Linked DNA regions of Homo sapiens: region 1 is linked to region 2. The links are contacts of gene promoters, found by promoter capture Hi-C in blood cells and fetal thymus (Javierre and others, 2016). All regions are on one chromosome and are shown on one strand. Each heading gives the region's core, a stretch centred on a gene start or on the middle of the fragment in contact. The rest is flanking DNA. Distances are from core to core; before and after follow the strand shown.

Region 1 (5,169 bases), core at 33-2,532, 530 kb after region 2:
CCGACTAATTTTTTGTATTTTTAGTAGAGACAGGGTTTCACCGTGTTAGCCAGGATGGTCTCCAACTCCCGATTTGTGATCTGCCCGCCTCGGCCTCCCAAAGTGCTGGGGTTACAGGCATGAGCCACCGCGCCTGGCCAAAAATAAGTATTTTTGTACTCTAAAATGGTGGGCATTTTGAAAGAAAGCTTAGCTGAAAAGATGCTGCTTACTGGATTGTAATAAACATGAAACAATTGATTTATACATTCACATTATAATTTTAAATCAGTATATAGTTGACCCTTGAACAACATGGGTTCAAACTGTGTGGTCCACTTTCACTGCAGATTTTTTTCAATAAATATATTGGAAAATATTTTGGAGATTTGTGACAATTTGAAAAAAACAGGATAAACTGCATAGCTTGGAAATACTGAAAAAATTAAGAAAGGTGTGTCATGAACGCGTAAAATACATGTAGATAATAATCTATTTACTACCATAAAATATACATAAATCTATTATAAATTTAACATTTATCAAAACTTAATGCACACAAACGTTTTTATAGACCACATGTGGTGCCACGTGCAGTTGAGAGAAATGTGAACAAATGTAAAGATGGATTAAGTCATAACTGCATAAAATTAACTAGTACATTCTCTACTACTGTAATTTCATAGCCATCTCCTTTTGCTACTGCGATGAGTTTGTTGTAAGTATCCGATGAAAATATGTGACGCTGATCTCTGCATGAGCAGTTCATCTCTCCAGTAAATGGTCTATCATAGTAAAAAATGATCTCTCATGTTCTCATGTATTTTTCATCATGTTTAGTGCAATACCATAAACCTTGAATAACATTACGGGACTCATGAAGTGTCACTAGTGGTGCTGGCGAACAGGCTCCCAAGAAGCAGAGAAAAGTCATGACGTTATAATGTTCTGCAAAGTTTCTTATAAGAAAAAGTTGAATTGCTTGATAGGTACCATAGATTGAGGTCTGAGGTCTGCAGCTGTGGTTGTCCGCCATTTCAGATGATTGATCTTGTAAACAGATGATGTAATTTTACTTTATTGGTAAAAACAGTACAGTACTATAAATACATTTTCTGATTTTCTTCTTTCCTTTTTTTTCCCTTTTCTTTTTTTTTTTTTTGAGACTATCTCACTCTGTCACCCAGGCTAGAGTGCAGTGGTGCGATCTTAGCTCGCTGCAACCTCCACCTCCCGAGTTCAAGCGATTCTCTGCCTCAGCCTCCCTAGTAGCTGGGATTAAAGGTGCACACCATCACACCTGGCTAATTTTTTTTGCATTTTTTATTAGAGACGGGGTTTTACCATGTTGGCCAGGCCGGTCTCAAACTCCTGACTTCAAGTGATCCGCCCGCCTCAGCCTCCCAAAGTGCTGGGATTACAGGTGTGTGAGTCACCACCCCTTCTGAGTTTCTTTTTTTCTCTAGCTTGCTTTATTGTAAGAATACAGTATTATAATACATGTAACAAAATATGTTAGTCGCCTCTTTATGATCAGTAAGGCTTCTTGTCATCAGTATGCTGTTAGTAGTTAAGTTTCTGAGGAATCAAAAGTTATTTATGGGCCGGGCGCAGTGGCTTATGCCTGTAATCCCAACACTTTGAGAGGCCGAGGCGGGTGGATCACGAGGTCAGGAGTTTTAGACCAGCCTGGCCAACATAGTGAAAACCCATCTCTACTAAAAATACAAAAATTAGCCCGGCATTGTGGCACCTGCCTGTAGTCCCAGCTGCTTGGGAGGCTAAGGCAGGAGAATCACTTGAAACCAGGAGGCAGAGGTTGCAGTGAGCCGAGATTGTGCCACTGCACTCTAGCCTGGGCAACAGAGCAAGACTCCGTCTCCAAAAAAAAAAAAAAGAAAAAGAAAAAAAAAAAAAGTAGTGAGGTCTGGCGCCCTCTACTGGTGAAGGCTAAGTATAGCTTGTGTTGTACAGTTAGGTCTCTTGTCTCTAGTGAGTCAAATATTTTAATGGAAAAACAAGGGTTATAGATGTCGGTTAAACATAGAAATTTGAAAGGAAGAGAAGTAATTCCCTTTGATTGTTGGTGCATAAAACCGGAATAGGCAAAATTCACAAGTCAAGATTAATTTCCAAGTCAAGATAATTTCCATGTTTGAGCTTAAGGATGATCTATCAAATTGTTTTCTAAGAAACTCATTTCACTTTGATGTCCAGTAAAGGAAATAATCTGGTAGGGGGTTGGAGTTGCTGTTGCTTGTTTATTGTCTCTATCCCCAGTCTGTAATGTTCCACAAAAGCAGAGATATTTGATGCACTGTGTACTTCCATATATTCTCCTATGATTAGAACAATATGTGACCCATTGCAGATGCTCAGTACACAATTTTTGAATGACTAAGCTTTGAGTTTTTATTTAAACACCTTTTTTTTGGATGAAAAGAAAAATTGAGAGAAGAAAATCTTAAGTATCCTAGGATCATATGTAGAATCAGAGGATTTCAACGTGCTGTATAAAAGGAGAGAGATTCTGGAACATAGGGCAAATTTTAGCAGAGTTGGGATAATGACTGGGTAAGAAAGGATAATTCTTTGTTCTAAAAGGGATTTCTCTGGTATTAAGGCCCTGTGTGAAAGCTGCTGGAGAAATTCAGTTCTGCAAAGTTTAAAGTAAATGGTTTGCTGTTTATGGAGTACTAGATTACTTAATGCAGTCCAGCCTTTATCTAGGTAAAGGTGATGCTTTTCCCATTGTGGAAGATGTTAGGATGCTAAGTTTGAATATGAAAATGTGTTGTGTGTTGTAGAGGCAATCAAATCACCATTTTGGTTGTATTTCCCATTGAGAAAATTAAAGATGCTTCTGTTTGTGTAATAATTTTGTTTTTATGAAATAAAGCGTAAAACTTCATGTGGTAAAATTTCACACTGTGATTCATTGTATTTGAGCATGCCTATGGAAAGTGATTGTTACTGTGTCAAATATTGAATGATTTGAATAATTACTAAGTTGTTCAGTTGTGTGTAGGATACTGCTGCTTTGACTTGGTAGAGAGCTTGTTCTAGCCCTGCTAGGTATGCCTAAATCTCTGTGACATAAAAAACAGGCTCTTTTAGAGTTGTGAGACTGCTACTTGAAATCAGGCAAAGCTGTGTGATTCCCAGCTGTTTCCACCACTTGAGTATTGAATAGGATTTATTAAGAAAAGTAGTGGTGTTATTCTTGGATAACTTAGTTGTATCTGTGATAAGTTTTTTTCTCCCACTCAAACCTTTCCAAATTATATCTGAAGGCAATATTTTCAGATTCATTCCTGAAATATTTAGGAACTCTGCACAGTACATTGTAGAAAGGGAAAAGAAAATTTACATTTTTTTGAGAATTACTGTGCTTGCTATTTGTGAGACTCCTTTTATTAAAGCAATTCTCATGGCTTTCTTTTTTTTGTGTGGGTAATAGCATCTCAATTTTAAATACCTGGAAAAAGAATGAGAGAGGTTGTTACTTTCTTTTTAAGATAGGCAGATTGTAAGTGACAGAAGTTGGATTTTGAATGAGTTATGTTTGAATCCAGAAATTATTTTTAATTGCTCCATGCCTATTTCCTGCTCTTTATCTTGCATCTTAGTGTGCTGAGGGAAAGGGATCAAATTCTTATGTGGTAGTAGAGAGATGCAGCAGAGTATGCTATGCTGAGACCTGACATACCTGCTCAGCAATACCGGAAATATAGAAATGAGGACAGCTTGTCGGGTAGAAGAAACAGAAACCAAGAGCTAGAAAGGCGAGACTATATAAGAGATAGGGATAGCAAGCAGCTTGAGGCTTTTGCTGATTGAGTGTCCTGTCATAAGCAGAAGATGATTTAGTTCTGTGGTCTTAGAGAAAGGTGTTTTGAGAGAGGAGTTTCACACTGCCGCTTTTCCCATTTATCTTAGTTATTTTGTTTAAAGGGATAGTCCCTTAGTTATCCACATGATACTTTTGTCTAGAATAATTTATACCATGACTTTTGCCAGATATTTCTGATTTGTGTATAGATGGTTACTGAATTCATATAGATGGAAGGATATTGTGCATAAAAATATGAGAATATAATTTTGAGGTATTTTAGCTCAAATGATCTCCAAATGCTAAAAGAACTGCAAGGTAAGGGAACAGTGAGTACTCTATATATACAATTTTACTGTGGGAAAATATACATAAAATTTACCATTCTAACCTTTTTTTTTTCTTCTTCTTTTTTTTTTTTTTTTGAGACGGAGTTTTGCTCTGTTGCCCAGGCTGGAGTGCAGTGGTGCGACCTCGGCTCACTGCAAGCTCTGCCTCCTGGGTTCACGCCATTCTCCTGCCTCAGCCTCCCGAGTAGCTGGGACTACAGGCGCCCGCTATTGTATGTTTATTAGAGGTGGGGTTTCACCGTGTTAGCCAGGATGGTCTCAATCTCCTGACCTCGTGATCCGCACACCTTGGCCTCCAGAAGTGCTGAGATTACAGGCATGAGCCACCACGCCCGGCCCTTTTTTCTTCTTTTTTGAGACGGAGTCTCACTCTGTCATCCAGGCTGGAGTTCAGTGGCACCACCTCGGCTCACTGCAACCTCTGCCTTCCGGATTCAAGCGATTCTCCTGCCACAGCCTTCCGAGTAGCTGGGATTACAGGTGTGCGCCACCACGCCCAGCTAATTTTTGTATTTTTAGCAGAGACAAGTTTCACCATGTTGGTCAGGCTGGTCTTGAACTCCTGATTTCAGGTGATCCACCTGCCTCAGCCTCCCAAAGTGCTGGGATTACAGGCGTGAAACACCGTGCTCGGCTGATTTTAACCATTTTTAAGTTTGCAGTTCAGTGGCATTAAGTACATTCACATTGTGGGATGCTTACCATCATCCATTTCCAGAACTTCTCTTCTTTCCAAACTGAAGCGCTGTACCCCTTAAGCAATAACTCCCCATCCCCCCAGCCCCTGGCAACCATCATTCTACTTTCTGTTTCTGCAAGCGTGACTAATCTGGGTACCCGTGTACTTGGAATTATGCAGTATTGTTCTTTTGTGAATGACTTATTTCACTTAGCATGATGTCCTCAAGGTTCACCCATATCGTAGCACCTGTCAGAATTTCCTTTCTTTTTAAAAAATACTAAATAATCCACTGAACATAGGTACCACATTTTGTTCGTCCTTGTATT
Region 2 (5,268 bases), core at 2,064-4,563:
CTAGATAGTATTTGTTGGGTTTTTGCACTGCAAAGCTGCTCTCCCCTCCCCCACACCTTTCCATAGTGTATATAGTACCTTTTGAAGAACATAAATTCTTAATTTTAACTGCATGGTCTGGGAGAGGGGCATGATCTTCGCCTCCACAGGGCTCCTGGATGGGATGTCTCATTTGCAGGGATCAGCTCATGTTATCGCGCTCACTCCGGGATCACTCAGAACTCACTGCTGGACTTAATTGGGGGACGAGGGCGAGACTTAAGGAAGCAAATGGAATTATGTATTCTTTCAAATCTTGCATCTGGACCTCTAGTTTTGAAACTCAAGAGCCAAGAATTTGACATTTGTTTTCAGGTTCTCCTGAGAGTCCTCCCCTCAGGGCAACGGATGGCTGCAGTCTTGCCTATTTGGCCTGTGGGGAGGGTGGAGAAAGGCTTCTTTTAGGCTAACAAATGGGGTCATAACTTCAAATATTGTATTACCCTGCTACACACATATCCATCTCTAAATGCTTCAGTGGAAAAGTTAACCGCACATCACCAGTTGTTTACTGAGCGCTAAAGATTGAATCAGCAGGGCTGCATTCACGAAGCAGAACTGCTGACGATTCAGAATATGACCTTGAGTACATATGCCCTTCCCTAGGCTTCAATCTCTCAATCTATGAAACAAGGAGAGGGCTTCCGACAATGTTTATCTTGCTAAATTCCAAGGTTGTAGAGAACAACAATGCCCCTTTGCAACCTCAGGTGAAAAGGGCCCTTAGGTGTAAAGAATACACTATTCGCTGTTAGCTCAAAAGGGGATGTTATTTCTCAAGACATAAATGGATTGTGAAAGATTGTGAGGTTTTCTGGGGGAATGGGGGGGTGGGGACTTATTTTATATTCCAGTCTATTTACAAATTTTTTCATCTTCCTCAAATTCAAAGAAATAAGAATGTACTAGAAGTCTTAAGAACAGAAACATTCACTCCTTTCCCTGTTTCCTTAAGCTGGATGAAATGGCAGGAGGTCTGCTCCACTTTTAGCTGATTATGTCCCTAAATAAGGTTTAGATAAGTTCTTGCAGGGCCTGTGATTCAAAACCTGTTCTAAGACATGCAGGGAGATGGACAAAGAATTTTAGTTGGTGTGAAAAGATTGTGAATTTATCATGCTTAAAAATGAATTTTTAAAAATGATTAATTTTTTTCCGCCGGGAGCAGTGGCTCACGCCTGTAATCTCAGCACTTTGGGAGGCTTTAGTGGGTGGATCGCCTGAGGTCAGGAGTTCGAGACCAGCCTGGCCAACATGGTGAAACCCCGTCTCTACTAAAAATACAAAAATTAGCCGGGCGTGGTGGTTGGCGCCTGTAATCCCAACTACTTGGGAAGCTGAGGCAGGAGAATTGCTTGAACTCGGGAGTTGGAGGTTGCAGTGAGCTGAGATCGCACCACTGCACTCCAGCCTGGGCAACAAGAGGGAAACTTCGTCTCAACAACAACAAAAAAAGTGATTAATTTTTTTCGAGTCAGTCACATTAGAGTGGATGTTTTGGAGGGGTGCTTTAGACATTTTGGTTCTAATAATTTCACATGCCTGATGGAAAAATCTCTCTTCTCCCTTTCAGAGTTCTCTAAAGTCCCATTTGTACAAATTCTCCTCTAGAGGAAAAGCAAGTTTGAGAGTTTCCTGTTTCTTGACGTTAGGTGAGGAAATCGACTCTGTTCCCTAAATTTGAGAGTGGCTTTGGTAAGCATAGTGTGTTCTAGAAAGTTCAAACTATTTAGTGAGTGTTTCTCTTTTTTTGCTTTCTTTATTTTCTAATAATAAAAAGACAGGGCCTCACTATGTTATCCAGGCTGGTTTTCAACTCCTGGTGTCAAAGGATCTTCCCACCTCGGCCTCTCAAAGCGCTGGGATTACAGGTGTGAGCCACCACACCTGGCCTCGAGAGTGTCTTTCTGATTCAGTTTTCAGTTGGGCAAGGTTTTCCTAGGGTGGGTCTGCTACCTGGGGAACTCCTGGGGTCACTGTTTTTAACTCGCTCTCATTTTTTCATCCTCAGGAAACTCCAAGAAGAAAATGGGACTGGAAACTGAAGAAACAGTAAGGCATTCCCCCCCTCCCCCCCGCCAATAAGTCTGTCTTACATTTGTGCAGTAAATCATGCTCAAACGCCTTCAATGGCTTAGTGTAGGTCTCTTATGTACAATTTAAAATCCTCAATAAATGTGCCTAACTGAAAGTTTTAGCTCTGTGCCTCCTCTCTCATATAATCTCTTATTTGATTACTGATGCTTAACCTGACGGGGCTTTCTCCCCACCTTAACTACAGTTTTCACTGGAACAATCTCCCCATCTCCTATCCTTGGATATGAAATCATTTCCACCTTTCAAGGTCATCAGCTGGGGCGTCATTTTCTACCTACAGACGCTATAGTGTGTCCCTTCTTGCCTCACATCATAGGCAAAAGACTATGAACTGCGGGAGGGGAGGAGCCTGGTCTAATTACTATGTCTAGCCTTCATACATCCTCATAGAACACCTTGCCCAGATTGGAAACTGAGTGAATGGACAAATTAAGTAATTAATTAACTTTCTGTCCCATGACTCCTTGTAGATTGGAAAGTCTTTGGAGGTAGAGTTGCCAGACTTAGCGAATCAAAATATAGGATACCCAGTTATATTTGAATTTCAGATAACCAGTAATACTTCTTTTAATACAAGTATGTCCCATAAATTAATTGCGACATAATAACAAATAATCGTTGTTTACATGAAATTCAAATTTAACTGGGCGCCCTGTATTTTATCTGGCACCACTATGTGGAAGGCAGGGGTTCCCCGTTGCGCCTGGCTTCTTCCCAGTAGGTGCTCGGCGTCTGTATACTTGTTAGAGCGAAACCCCAACCAGCCCCGCCTTTCACAGCTGGCGTCCGTAGCCGGGCGGAGGCACACGACCAGGAAAGACAGACACCCTGGTTGGAGACCGTCGCTCGAGACTGGCAGAAAGATCTGCACTCGGGAGGCACCCTCACCCCGTGGGCTCCGGGACCCCTCGACTAGCTCCATCACCCATTCCGACTACCCGCCCTACGCTCCACCTCTTGACCCGTCATCACCGACCGGGGGGCGGGACTGCCCGACTTTTCAATCGCTGCCTACCATTGGTAGAACTCTCCATCCGTTACTTTAAGTCCCGCCTATCAGGCTGTCGCTTCCCAGGTTACGTCCCTTCCGTAGGCCGCGGCGTAACTGGTGATTGGTGGAGAAAGCGGCAGCTGTCCCAGCGGAAGCGACGAAGGGACGGGACCCGGGAGCCTGGACGAGTCCGAGCGCGTCACCTCCTCACGCTGCGGCTGTCGCCCGTGTCCCGCCGGCCCGTTCCGTGTCGCCCCGCAGTGCTGCGGCCGCCGCGGCACCATGGCTGTGTTTGTCGTGCTCCTGGCGTTGGTGGCGGGTGAGGAGCCGGGGGCCGGCAGGACGTGCCTGGGGAGGTCCTGCGCCGCGGGGCTTGGGGGTCGGGGGCGGCCGCGGGCGAGTAGCTGCGAGGCAGGTGCCGCAGTGCGGTCCGTCAGCGGCGGCCTCGCCTCAGCCGCGTCCCCGTCAGCATCTTCTCTGGATCGGCCGTGGCGGCGCGGCCTCACGGGCCGCCGGGGCCGGGGCTGGGCTGCGTAGGGGGCCCCTGAGCCTGCCTCCACCCTCCACTTTGAGGGCGGCGCGTCCGGCCGGCTTCTTGCGCCTGAAAAGGCCCTTCAGAGTACGGAGATGCATTTCTCAGTGAACTGGGATTGAGTCGCAGCCCGCTGCGAAGAAGAGAAGGCAGACTTTTTAGCTGCCACTGGCTGCCACGATGTTTTTGCATTTGTATGGTGCCTTCATTTCTAGTGGTTGTCATCAGTAATTGCTGAAATCCCTGCCCCTCCCTTCCCTTATGTATATTTCCGGATGCAAAAGTTGAGATGGAGTCATTATTTTTATATGACTTATATTTCTTAAGGCGAATACAAAGCACCTCTCAATAGTTTGTCAGAGTTCCAAATTTTAAGGATTTGGAAACAGGATGTGAGTCGCATTTTTAGGGTCACATGTCAATAAATGGTAGCTTTCTGAGTAGAACCTAGATTCCTAAGCATTCAGCAAGAGGTGAAGAAATCAGCTAATACGTGGCCTCTTACTGCATATCATGTGGTAATGTATTTCATTTGACAGCAGTCCTTAGAGGGCATCATCTTTGTTTTGCAGGGTGATCAACCTAAATAAATTACCCAACACTAAACAGGTTGGGTGCTGGATTTGATTTCAGATGAGGTGGTGCCAGCGCATCGGCCTTTTCCATTATATATGTTGTGTTGCACAAGTAACGCTATTACTGTGTGAGAATGTGGGAGTGATGGGGACTGAGACTGGAGGCACAGACAGTAGTGAACAAGAGGCCAAGTTGAGAACGGCTTGGAGGAATGGGTGCTCTGATCTCAGTGTGTCAGTTTAAAACCTATGGGAGGCCGGGCGCGGTGGTTCACGCCTGTAATCCCGGCACTTTGGGAGGCCGAAGCAGGCAGATCACCTGAGGTCAGGAGTTTGAGACCAGCCTGGCCAACAAGGCAAAACGCCATCTCTACTGCAAATATAAAAATTAGCCGGGTGTGTTGGGGCACACCTGTAATCCCAGCTACTCAGGAGGCTGAGGTACGAGAATCGCTTGAGCCCGGGAGGCGGAGGTTGCAGTGAGCCGAGATCGCGCCATTGCACTCCAGCCTGGGCGATAGAGCCAGACCTTGTCTCAGAAGCAAAAACAAACATACAAACAAACCAAAAACCTATGTGAGGTGTTGGGAGGTCCTGCTTGTGGAATGGCGATTTAATTCTGCACCAGTATGCTCTTGAAATCTGCAGATCTCTGTCCCTAGAGGTGCGGGGGTTTTGTGTGTTAATGATAGTTACGTTGTATCCATGCCCCAAACGTTTTCGAGTTCTTTGTTTCTTTCTTCTGTTTCTGGCTCTGGAAAGGTCTTTCTGATCTACTGAGATACTTTGAGGGAATTAATTTTAATTCAGTTTTTGAAATTTTAAAAATATTCCCTTTGATCCTGTGGTTTAACTGAACATCTATTGAGATTCCATGTTTTAATATTTTGACTGATATTATTTTGATTCAGTGAGGTATAGGCTTTTTTGTTTTGGGTCTGAGATAAAATAATTGCTTCTGCACATGGTTTGAACATGTTTTCCTTACTAGCATAGCCGAGTTCATACAGAACAAGAACCTGATCCTGTCAGCT

The links. The method cuts DNA at HindIII sites, captures the fragments that hold promoters and counts their contacts. A CHiCAGO score of 5 or more calls a contact.
Region 1: a contact is called between a fragment that was not itself captured here and the fragment with the promoter of ATP6AP2 in region 2, in 1 of 17 cell types (neutrophils). The highest score is 6.7, in neutrophils.

Annotation. Positions count from the first base shown.
Region 1 is chrX:41,113,360-41,118,528 of GRCh38, forward strand. The region is part of intron 1 of USP9X (ubiquitin specific peptidase 9 X-linked); the gene reads left to right. Among named protein-coding and RNA genes, the nearest start is that of USP9X, 30 kb to the left of the region's middle. RefSeq lists a silencer at 1,291-1,423 and an enhancer at 3,684-3,743. The HindIII fragment of the contact is 2,193 bases long and covers 187-2,379 here.
Region 2 is chrX:40,577,657-40,582,924 of GRCh38, forward strand. It overlaps ATP6AP2 (ATPase H+ transporting accessory protein 2), which reads left to right and starts at 3,314. Exons shown (of 9, transcript NM_005765.3): 1 at 3,314-3,446. The coding sequence starts at 3,410. RefSeq lists enhancers at 2,814-2,963, 3,014-3,223 and a silencer at 3,384-3,693. The HindIII fragment of the contact is 11,326 bases long and covers 1-5,268 here.